Regions from separate parts of the Homo sapiens genome. Here all the other regions are linked to region 3. Evidence: promoter capture Hi-C in 16 types of primary human blood cells and fetal thymus (Javierre and others, 2016). All regions are on one chromosome and are shown on one strand. Each heading gives the region's core, a stretch centred on a gene start or on the middle of the fragment in contact. The rest is flanking DNA. Distances are from core to core; before and after follow the strand shown. Region 1 overlaps LRMDA (leucine rich melanocyte differentiation associated). Region 2 holds the start of LOC124902462 (a long non-coding RNA gene). Region 3 holds the start of LRMDA (leucine rich melanocyte differentiation associated).

What was found. Contacts are between HindIII fragments. The CHiCAGO score rates a contact against its expected background, and 5 or more counts as called.
Region 1: a contact is called between a fragment that was not itself captured here and the fragment with the promoter of LRMDA in region 3, in 1 of 17 cell types (erythroblasts). The highest score is 5.5, in erythroblasts.
Region 2: a fragment that was not itself captured here is called in contact with the fragment with the promoter of LRMDA in region 3 in 1 of 17 cell types (M0 macrophages); the score reaches 5.6 in M0 macrophages.

The regions. Positions count from the first base shown.
Region 1 is chr10:76,045,101-76,048,731 of GRCh38, forward strand. It overlaps LRMDA (leucine rich melanocyte differentiation associated), which reads left to right. Exons shown (of 7, transcript NM_001305581.2): 4 at 2,064-2,203. Among named protein-coding and RNA genes, the nearest start is that of MIR606, 490 kb to the left of the region's middle. The HindIII fragment of the contact is 1,989 bases long and covers 573-2,561 here.
Region 2 is chr10:76,302,983-76,306,525 of GRCh38, forward strand. The region is part of intron 5 of LRMDA (leucine rich melanocyte differentiation associated); the gene reads left to right. It overlaps LOC124902462 (a long non-coding RNA gene), which reads right to left and starts at 2,034. Exons shown (of 3, transcript XR_007062203.1): 1 at 1,997-2,034. RefSeq lists a silencer at 749-1,043. The HindIII fragment of the contact is 3,309 bases long and covers 1-3,258 here.
Region 3 is chr10:75,430,282-75,433,811 of GRCh38, forward strand. LRMDA (leucine rich melanocyte differentiation associated) reads left to right here and starts at 1,343. Exons shown (of 7, transcript NM_001305581.2): 1 at 1,343-1,473. The coding sequence starts at 1,444. LOC107984293 (a long non-coding RNA gene) reads right to left here and starts at 1,329. Exons shown (of 2, transcript XR_001747703.2): 1 at 1,241-1,329; 2 at 1-29. RefSeq lists enhancers at 1,151-1,651, 1,652-2,152 and a silencer at 1,293-1,392. The HindIII fragment of the contact is 4,872 bases long and covers 176-3,530 here.

The DNA of each region.
Region 1 (3,631 bases), core at 317-2,816, 620 kb after region 3:
TCTTGCTAGTTTTTCCCCTCCCTTGCTAGTTTCCCCCTCTCTTGCTACTTTACCCTGTCTTGCTAGTTTCGCCCTCTGGTTAGTTTCCCTCTCTTGCTAGTTTCGCCCTCTGGTTAGTTTCCCTCTCTTGCTAGTTTCCCCCTCTGGTTAGTTTCCCTCTCTTGCTAGTTTCCCCCTCTCTGGTTAGTTTCCCTCTCTTGCCAGTTTCCCCCTCTCTTGCTAGTTTCCCCCTCTTGTTAGTTTCCTCCTCTTGCTAGTTTCTCCCTCTGGTTAGTTTCCTTCTCTTGCTAGTTTCCCCCTCTCTTGTTAGTTTCCCCTCTCTTGGTAGTTTCCCCCTCTGGTTAGTTTCCTCCTCTTGCTAGTTTCCCCCTCTTTTGCTAGTTTCCCTCTCTTGCTAGTTTCACCTCTTCTGCTTGTACTCTGCTTCTCATTGTCTCTGGCTGCTCTCACCTAGGGTATAGCATTTGGCCTTGCATATGATGGTGGCAGAGCATGTGTACAAAGAATGCTTGAAGGAACTTAGTTTGGAGAATAAAAGATTTAAGGAAGACATGTGAGCTTCAAATATCTGAAGCTTCATCATGTGGAAGAGAAGAAGCCTTATTCTTTGTGACCCCAAGCAGTTAAATTGGGTCACTGAGTAGAGGTTAGAGAAAGATTCAATTCCAGGGGAAAGGAAAACTGTTATGGTTGTCAGAAATGGAATGTGCTATGTCGTGGTGATTGCTTGGCAAATATTTTAGGGACCCAATTCCGACATTGGTTGGATTTTGAATTCATTCTTTTGTGACAAGTTGAAATGAAGTATGAGGAAATCTGTGTAACAGCCCAAGGTTAGATAACATCCTCACAGAGCAAGAACATCCCTTTTCTTTGATTTTACCTTCTCCTAGGTTCAAGTGGACCCCACTTCTGGGAACTGTAATCTGAGTCTTTCACGCTTGCATATGGCATTTCTTCTACCCTTGTATGTTTTGTTCCTGTAGCTCTGCTGCCATTCCCTGGCTGGGACCCCCTTTTATCTGCCAACTTGGTTAACCCTCTCTCATATGTCTCTCGAAGTCACGGCCTAACCAGGCATGCCTATCTAACCATCACCTTACCTAGGCTCAGCTTGTCTGTATGTGGCTTAAGCCAGGAGTTAGTATGGGGACTAAGTTGTCATTAAACCCTTTCCAGTACCTGTGATTCTGTGAATCTATGGCTCTTGCTTTATTTGGTTTGGCCATGATTGGACAGTGGGTCCCACTGGAAGATGGCTCCTGGAATAATCTCCCCCATCATGCCCCCCTCTGACTTTTCTCTTTCATTCTCTAATTCCCTCACTAACAGAGAAAGAATATATTTTAATGAGGCCTTCTGAAATAATTTCTGGTTTTCTTTTTCTGGTTTTTTTGTTTTGTTTTTTTCTTTTGAGACAGAGTCTCGCTCTGTCACCTGGGGGCATGATCTCTACTCACTGCAACCTCCACCTCCCAGGTTCAAGCGATTCTCCTGCCTCAGCTTCCCAAGTAGCTGGGATTACAGGCTCCTGCCATCATGCCCAGCTAATTTTTGTATTTTTAGTAGAGACGGGTTTCACCATGTTGGCCAGGCTGGTCTCAAACTCCTGACCTCAAATGATCTGCCTACCAGGGCCTCCCAACGTACTGGAATTACAGGTGTGGGCCACCATGCCCAGCCCTTGTTTTCATTACTAGAAACGAATTAAGTTTTATGGTTTTGCATATTGTAAAAATATTTTACTCTATGGAATCTTCCCTTTTGGTGTGTTTTAGAAACAGAACTATAGAGGAAAGAAAAATATGATGGGACAATCAAGTTTATTCATTCTTCCTCAGATGATCTGGACTTAGTCTTACCTGCCTAGCGAAAGTTGGGCTGTGTTCCCAACAGTGGGAGTGAAAAAGTAGCAATACCGTATACCCACAGCTGAATTGATTTCAGCCCCCACCCTGAGGTCTCACAGGAGCAGACTGGACTCATCAGCGCCTGTCAGTCATGGCCTATGCTCATTGCTAAGCCTTTTGTCTTACTGGACCAAGATTCTTAACCTTTGTCACATCACTGATTTGGAGAACCTGCTGGATCACTTGGCAGAAGTGACACCAGCTCTGGAGTACCTCAGTCTGCTGGGCAACGTGGCCTGTCCCAACGAGCTGGTCAGCTTGGAAAAGGATGAGGAAGACTACAAGAGATACAGGTGAGTGTCCAGGGGTTGGACCATGGTGGGAAAAGGGAAAAAGAGAAACTTTAGGGGATGATATTATACTCTGGGGTGCATAGTAGATGTTTGGTACATATCAGTGGGTTTCCCATGACAATGTTAAACTTTTACCTTTTGGTAACCTATAGCCATTGTCTCTCTTGGTTGAGGTCACAAAAGCTAAGAAAGATGAAAAGTTATTGCCTTTTCTACTTTTTTTGTGAAGTGCCAGATATTAAGTATTTTAGGTTTTCCAAGTTACATGGACTTGTCACAACTACTCAGCCCTGCTTTCATAATGCAGAAGTAGTCATACATAATTTGTGAACAAATGGGCATGGCTTTGTTCCAGTAAAGCTTTATTTACAAAACAGATGGCAGGCCAGATTTCACCCATGGGCTGTAACTTGCTGACCCCTGCTCTGTGTTGTAAGATCTTTCTGTGGTCTGTCTCAGAGTCATCTTGAAGAGAGAGATGACTTCCCACCAAAATTTAGGGAGCTCATAGACAATCTCAAGAGGAAGTCCCACAGGCCCATACCTCTCCACCATAGAGCTATGCCGTGGCGCCCACCAGCCATGCGCTTTGATGGGCTCCAAGTAGAAATGCTTTTCGTTCTTCTCTCTACTTCTCAACCATGTGCTTTAAAAGCCCTGATCCAAAGTCATTTAGAGAGTCTTTTTGGTCTTACCCATTTTACCAAAGTCACCTAATTTTCCTTCTTCATTTAAAATTGTCTGTGTTCTCATTGTTGATTGTTGTTTTGTAAATGCTTTAATGACCTTTTCATGGACCTCTCTCTCCATTATGACATAAGCTCTCATTAAACACCCCACCTGAATCACTCTTAAAAATAACTTAATAAATTTTGTATATGTATATATGCATATATACATATATGTCTGTGTCTATATGTATATGTATGTGTACACACACATTCATGCACTTGTTCATTTATTCATTCATTCATGGGGCCAAGAAGCTATGTGTGAAGCCAACCATGTAGGCAAGTTTTTGTAATTTTTTTCTAGAATGAGAGAGGTAGGGAGGGATTGGTCTCAAGTACAGGGCTTATGAGGTTGCAAAAGGAAAAGAAGAGCTAAGAAAAATTTTTTTCTATTCTTTTTTTGGTGTATCATCAGCTCTCAAATAATTACTATTTGTTTTTTCTATTGTAACTGGTCGCATTAGCAAAAGTACTAAGACCAAGGTATGTGGGGTCAGATCAGAAGATCTGATGTGGAGTCCGGCTTTCCCAGTGGGGCTTTTAAAATAGGAGGACAGTCTATATCAGTATTCCATAATCAAGGATCTACCTCTGAGTCATCCAAGGTATTCTGATGCAGTTGGTGGCAATTACAACACAACAGTCCATAGGTGTTTCTGATGTCCAGTTGGCTTTAGAATTCGGAGACACTCAGCTC
Region 2 (3,543 bases), core at 354-2,853, 870 kb after region 3:
CTCTAACTTTCCTCATCTCCCCCTGAAAGAAAGAAAAAAGCATTTCTTCCAGGGACTGATAAGTTGTAGGCCGATGCTTAGCAACAGCATTCCTGTGCTTTAAGTAGCTGCAAGCCCCTTGCTGAACTCTTTGATGTGACTGTCAGGGCAGATTTATTTTGTTTTAGCACATTGTCTACTTGTCCAGATGTATCAGGAGATAAAAAGGAGTCATGTTTACACTCCTCCCTTTTTTTTTTTTTTTTTTGGAGATGTAATTAAATCGTGTTTTTGATGAGTCTTGGGGAGCTCCAGTTGAAGAAAACAGGAATTGGCTGGAGTAAAGGGAAGAATGAAAACTTGCTTGGCAGAATGAACACCTGACTGCGTCAAAAAATAAAGCATAAGTACCAGCTGGCGTGGTTCTGTGAAGCTGGAGGTTTTGTTCTGAGTCTTTTGTTCCACTTCTGTGGAAGTCCAACCAAGAAGAAGGGAGAGGTGCCCGTCCAGCGCTCACTTGCTGGGCACTATCTGTGAAACCTCTAGCTCTCAGTGATCTCTTCTTTCTTACTGCACACAGGCGCGCACATGAGGCCTTAACTCCCTTCTTCCACTATCATTTAGTGGGTAGTACATCTGTGATAGATAGTTGTCAATCTAAGCTAATAAAATTGTTGAACTCCAGTGATCTTGAATAAACAAATCTTCACCGAGCTGGATGAGTTGAATTCCCTGGGAATGGGATTGCCACTCTTTTTTTTTTTTTTTGGTGATCAGTTTTTTAATGTGCACATTTAGTAACACCATTCTGAGTTCTATTAATGACCTGCAGTGAGCAGTGACAAGCAGGAATATGACATTCAGTACTGCTGAGGACCTGCCAGGCAGCGGCTAACACGCTCGCTTTCATCTGCAGCTCGGGAGACACTCTATTTGCATCCTAAATAGGTTACACTACAGCACCCCCTTCTGCCGACTGAGCTGTGTGACAAGAAGGCCTCACTACAACTCAGTTTTCTCCCCTGATGACAGCCCTGAAGGCCCTTTCACGGCTTTCTCTAACCTTTCTAGCCTTCCCCTTTGGTCCCTGGAGGAGCACAACAGTGACTAATGGTGTGCGTACCTGCACTCCTGGGGGCTTCATTTGGATTATACTTTTAATTACTCATTCATCAGAGGAAAGGAACAAAAACCATCCATTGAAGGAGACAGAAAGATGGGTATAACAAAAAGAAAGCTGAGCCAAGCAGGTGCTACCTTAGATCACTCCTGGCTGGGGTCCCTCCTGCCAGATCCCAAATCCCAGACAGACGCCACTGAATGCATCTTAGAAACTACAGGCTTGGTTTTGTGTTTCCCATTTGTAGCCCAGTCTGAAGTACAGGAAGGAGGTTTTCCTTTGTTTGTTCTAAACACCTTTTGGATGACTCCATTTGGCAGAAGCGCACCTTAAACTTGTAGTCCTTTCACATACGAGAAATCAACTGGGCTCTGCTAGAAAGGGGTGTCCACATGGGGAATTTTGGAGGGAGGAACTATGCATGCCACCTGTCCAACACTGAGAAGCCCTGTTTGCAGGGGTTGGGGTATGGGGTAGAGAGCTCCCATCAGAGGACAGTGCAGAGGCTGACTTAGCCTGGGAAGATGTGGACTTATTGTTATCCTCCACCCTTGGAGGCCAGGGAATGCTATTTGTTCAATATTTTAAGTTCATTTAATTTACCATTTAGTATTTATCGAGAAGATACTATGGGCCACCCAGGTGGAGTAGGGCGCTGCCCTCAAGGAGCAAAGTGTCTAGTAGGGGGACAACTCAGGCAAAGCATGTTGGGAGGGAGTTAGGAAGGAAGACTAGGCTTTGCAAAGATCTCCAGCAGGATGGGGCACAGTGCCCTGCGGGAGCAGGAGAACACCACGTGATGACTCTCAGGGTGAGGAGTGAAGGCAAAAGAGAGGCTGAGAAGGCAGGGGCTGGGGCAGAGGGCCTTCTAGGAAATGGATGGTGCTCTTTGCTTACCCCAAGAGCAAGGTGAATCACTACGTTTTTAAGCAGAGAGGCCCCAGTTTCCTTGTGAATCTTCGTGGAGTCCTTTGAGCTCTGTAACCATCTGGGTTACAGGTCTTCTTTGTGTGTCTCACTACCATGCCTTACCCTTCTGTAATCTGTCTGTGCAAGTGCACTTGCAGGATAAACCCAGGAGCTGGAGAAAGCAGAGGAGTTTCTGTGGCCGTGTTTACCTTTCAAAACCTAGGAATCCTGGATATGGAATAAGAGAAAAGAGGGCTTGTAGCATGTGTGGGCCCTTTCTTGGGCCCTTTCTATCTTATAATTGGTACAAAAGACAGTAGATGGTAGAACGGAGTCAGGAAAAATGTTGGAAAATGTTTTAATGGATGAAAACTCATTTGGAAAGTAACCTCAAAACATCTTTTTTCTTTTTCTTTTCTCCCTCCCTTCCTCTTTCTTTCTTTCATGGTCAGGACATTGGACTGTCCTGAGCAAAACATATACCTAGAATGGGATCTCCCACCCAGGGTAGGTTCATGCATACTTTGTCAGTGACTGAGTCCCTCTAGACCACAATGTGTTTGAGAGTTGAAGACTAAGATGGGCACAGGGTAGTGTTTCTTTAGAAAATAAACTTAAATTTTGCATTTCCTTTGGCTTCAGGGAGAATAAGGCTGCTAGAATGGTTAGAAATATTGCACAGGACATCAGACTTACTGATTATGATACTTGATTAGTCATTTTTCTTGTAGTAATCATATATTTGGGTCTGGAATCTCTCAAGGAAATAGCTTCACACATATGTATACGTTTAGATGAATGAAACTTTTGATGTTAACAGTTATTGATAGTATAAAGCAAATAAAAAAGGCCTCTTTCAAGAACGGCTCTGTGAATAATTTACAGAAAATTTTGAAAAAAGAAAATAAAGGAGAAAAGATTTTTGGGGGTTATTTCTCAAATGACTTTCCATCTATTAAACTATTTTCCACCATTTCCCTTGGCTCCAATCTACTATATTAACTATATTTTATAATAAACACATTAGTATTGTGAAAATTAATATTTAATAATGTAGAGTCCTTATCTAGAAAAGTTAAGTTCTTATCTAGAAAGGTACACAGGCTGAGGATTAGTATTAACTTTACAAAGAAAGATTGGGTTTGGAACTCAGAGTTTTTTTATATCCTTATCCTCTCCTCTGCAATCAACACATACACACATACTTTTGCATACTGCAGCCCTTTTGGAATTCCAAATGTTAGCATCCAAGCTTCATGGTTCTTCTTCAGATTTTAGCTATCCTGATATAGACACTGAGAGCATGTGGGCTCTAGCCCAGAAGAGTTTTAGCAGCCTAGCAGAGCATTTGTACATATCCCCCTTTGGTTGCTATAGTGGGTGCTGTTGAATTGCTAAGCAGAGAATCCTGCCTACTTTCTTTGGGTCTCTTGGGGGAAATGAAACTCAAGTGTAGCAGCTAGTCCTAAGTCTGTAGGTCTTCAGTTCCACATCCTAAGTCACACATGACACGGGGCATGGATCTTCAGGGGCTT
Region 3 (3,530 bases), core at 93-2,592:
GTGCTGGCTGGGTCCGGGCTCACTTCCTCCTTTTCAGGCAGGAAAAGCAGACAAAAGTGCACAATGGACCAGAGAGGGCGCGTCCAGCAGAGAAGGAGGGAGAAGGCGGGGGAGCTGGTCCTTGGGGCAACAGGCCTGGGAAGGTTCCCTTTGATCCCCTTATCTCTGGAGGGTAAGCTTTCTTTTTTGGCCTGCAGGACCTTTTGTTGCAGCATTTCCTGGAATCCCCCAAAGTAAACACAGTCAAGACTGCATTCTTACTGCTCTACTCTTCTGAGCCTGCTCCTCCCAGCTGAGAGAGGGGCAGGAAGGTCAACCCTCCGAGATCAACACTGCTCATCAAAATGCTGACAAGGGCCCACCTAACAATGTGTTAGGACCGGGGCTGTCTGAGAGACGATGCCAGTTAAGGCTGGGCTGGCTCTTAGCTGCAGCAAGAGTGGAAGATGACAACCAGTTGATATCTGGTAGCTCTGTGCATCCTGGACTTGGAGGCAAGAATAGGCAAGGAGAAAATCTGGATCCTTCCAGAGAATTTCAGAGAAAAACAGGCATGGGTTTAGGGAGTTACCTGCCCACTGGGCCTACTTTCATCCAGACAGGAGGCCCGTGGCCAGCTCTTCCAGGTGGGGATGGGGTGGGTGGGGAACAGCGAATAACCCCACTGATAACTTCAAGCCTCACAAATCTCTTGCCCTCTGAGGAGCAGGAGAAGAGAAGCCTGAAATTTGGGGTCACCAGCCAATTATCCTTCCCCAGGGTTTATTATTGTCAACTCTTAGAGGCCACAGGGAAAGGGTGGGGTGGTCTTCACCAAGCCAGCGTTTTATTTATAGGGAAATTCAACCCCCCCAATCCCCCTCCCCTCCTACAAATGGAAACTGGGCCGCACCAGGAGTCCTTCAACCTTCTAACTTTCCCTCTCCCCAGCTTTGATGAGGAGGGGCGTTCAGCCAAGAGGCCCCTCCTCGCTGCAGTTGAGGTCCATTATGTAACCCAGCTTGCGAAATGCAGGAAAGGCCCGGCTGGCTACAGCCCGGCTAACGGCTCAGAAAGGGCGCCCCTGATAGGAATACCCCCACCTCAGGCGTGGCCCAGACAAACGCGATAAAGCTGTGGGCATGGAGTTTTGGGCATTGGGACATCCGGGGGAGGGAGGGGCGCGGGCAGTCGGGGTCAGGCCGCCGTCGGGGCGCGGGGCGCTGCGGGCCACCTGTTGCAGCGGGCGGCCAGGGCTCACCTGCGCGGAGACCGGGCCGAGGGGCGGCGGCGGCGAGCGGCGGAGCTGAGGTCCCCGAGGCTAGCCCGCGCCTCCGGCTTCCGCCGGGTCAGCTGACTGCCCAGTGCGGAACTGTGCGCCCGCCGCGCTCCCCTGCCGCGCTCCCCGCTGCTGCCGCCGCGCCCCCGCGCTCCGTCCCGCGCGCCCGCAGCGTCCTGGCCGCCATGGCCGGGCTCGTGGTGCGTGGAACTCAAGTAAGTCCCGGCCAGCCCCGCCTCCGCCCGGGGCGCAGTCCGCGTGGGGAGGGACAGCGGGGCACAGAGGCTCCCCAGGGCCTAGACACCCCTGTCCCCGCCTCAGGGGGCTGCGTCTGCAGGGGGTGAGCTTCAGGTGCTCAGGCTCGCCCTAGTGGGGCTAGGACAGACCTCGTTTCGGGCCTGGCACACCCCCTTGATGTGCGGGAAGAACACCCGCAAGGTCTCCCGTTCTCCCCACTTCCTTCTGCCCTTAGCGCCTCACTGAGCAGGCCCAGCGGACACAGTGCTGACGGCCCCCGCTGCTTTTGGGGGCCCACAGAAAATGTTCCAATTTCATAATCTGAATTTTAAAAACTTTTGGTCAAAGAATCCATTTTGATAAATCACATTGATATAGTCATCTTTATACCAATGCAGTTGTAATATACAAATTTACTTATTTGTAAATGGAGGAAGGGGTTTATGAAGGCAAAAGTGTCTAGGGTACCCAAAGTCCCAGCACATCCCTGGAGATGAGGGTGCTGGTGGGCCCTGCGCTGAATGGGCTACGCCATAGCCAAAGGCTGATGGAAGGCCACCGACCTCCAGTTCTCTTTCCACACTCGATTTCTTGAACAGGAGTCTGTGATGAATGGCAACACGCCAGTTTCAATCCTGGGTGCCAGACACCCAGTCTCACATGCTTTGAGCTCTGTAGTGAAGCCTCAGGTGTTCATTGTTGGAGGGATGAACCCAGCCACTCTGGGACCAGGTGTCTTTCTTACCTGCTGGAAAAGCCAGTTCTCTGTCTTTAACCTCTTCTCTGCTCTGATGAAGCCAGAGCCCTCTTACTTCCCACCTTTCCCTGCACACCCTGGAGAAATAGTTCTGAGTTTTTGAAGCTCTCCTCTTGGATTGCCTAAGGCAGGTAGTGTCAGGCACAATTGGATTTTGAGATTACTTTGGGCTGAAGGGAATGATTCCTCCTTAGAGGAGATTCTAGGGGTTTTTACAGCTCCTACAGATGCAGTGAGGGCCAACTGTGCAGCCCATTAAACTAGCCGCTGCCTGTTTTCTTTTTTTCCAGAGTCCTGTCGTTTCATCAGGTACACATGTTTATTGAGTGCCTACTGTATGCCAGGCACCATGCCAGGTGTTGTTGGAAATTAGCCTTTCCTTTGTCTCTGTGCACCCCCCATTTAACAGTTTTGTTGCTCAGGAATGCTGGCTCTGTCCCTTGACCCACAGCCTGGGAGGAGAGAGCTGGAGAAAGACCAGAGTTCAGAAGTGAGTTAACAGCCTGCGGAGAGGCTAAAAATGACGGGTCTTGTTCAGCCATCGGGGAAAGGGGCTTTTTTTTTCTGGGAGTTAATTTACTGCCTGGAGGGAGGGGCTGGACAAGAGGGTCTTTTCCTTCTCTTGGAGTATCTACCTAAGAAGGAGGGTTCCCTGCCCCCCAGACCCTAGGTCTCTCTGCGTTTCAGATTTGGTGTTCTCCCGGTGTACCTTGCTACAAGTTCATGGGGCTGAGCACTTTCCTGTGCTTCCTTTCCCTTTGCTCTTCCTCCGTTTCCTAGATTCGATTTTTCCTGCAGCCCCTGTTCTTAGCCTACTCCAAACAGCCCAAGGGCATTCATGGAAGTGTGGGTGAGGCATTTTAGGCCCTTGGGGACTGTTTTATTAGACCGAGTTGCCTGGGGAGGAGCTAAGAAGGTAGGCTGGGAAAATGCCCCTGGAGTCTTAGTGCCCCATTTCCTAAACTGCCCAGGTTAGTGGATTTGAGTGTCTGGCCCCGGAGGTGGTTTTTTTGTTTGTTTGTTTGTTTGTTTGTTTTTTCTACATTCTGCTCCCAGCGATTTCTAATGGCGGCCGCTTTAAGAGGTAGCACCTTGGATGTGGGTAGCATGGAACAGTACTTGTCAGACTTTAGTAGATCCTTCTTAAAGGGAGGAAAATAAAACCCGCAAAACTTCCCATGAGCCCATAGTGTGAATATAGTTTTTATTACAATGTTACTCAAATATAAAAACATGAAGCCAGAGACAACTTTCCCATATCCAGAGACCTATAAATCC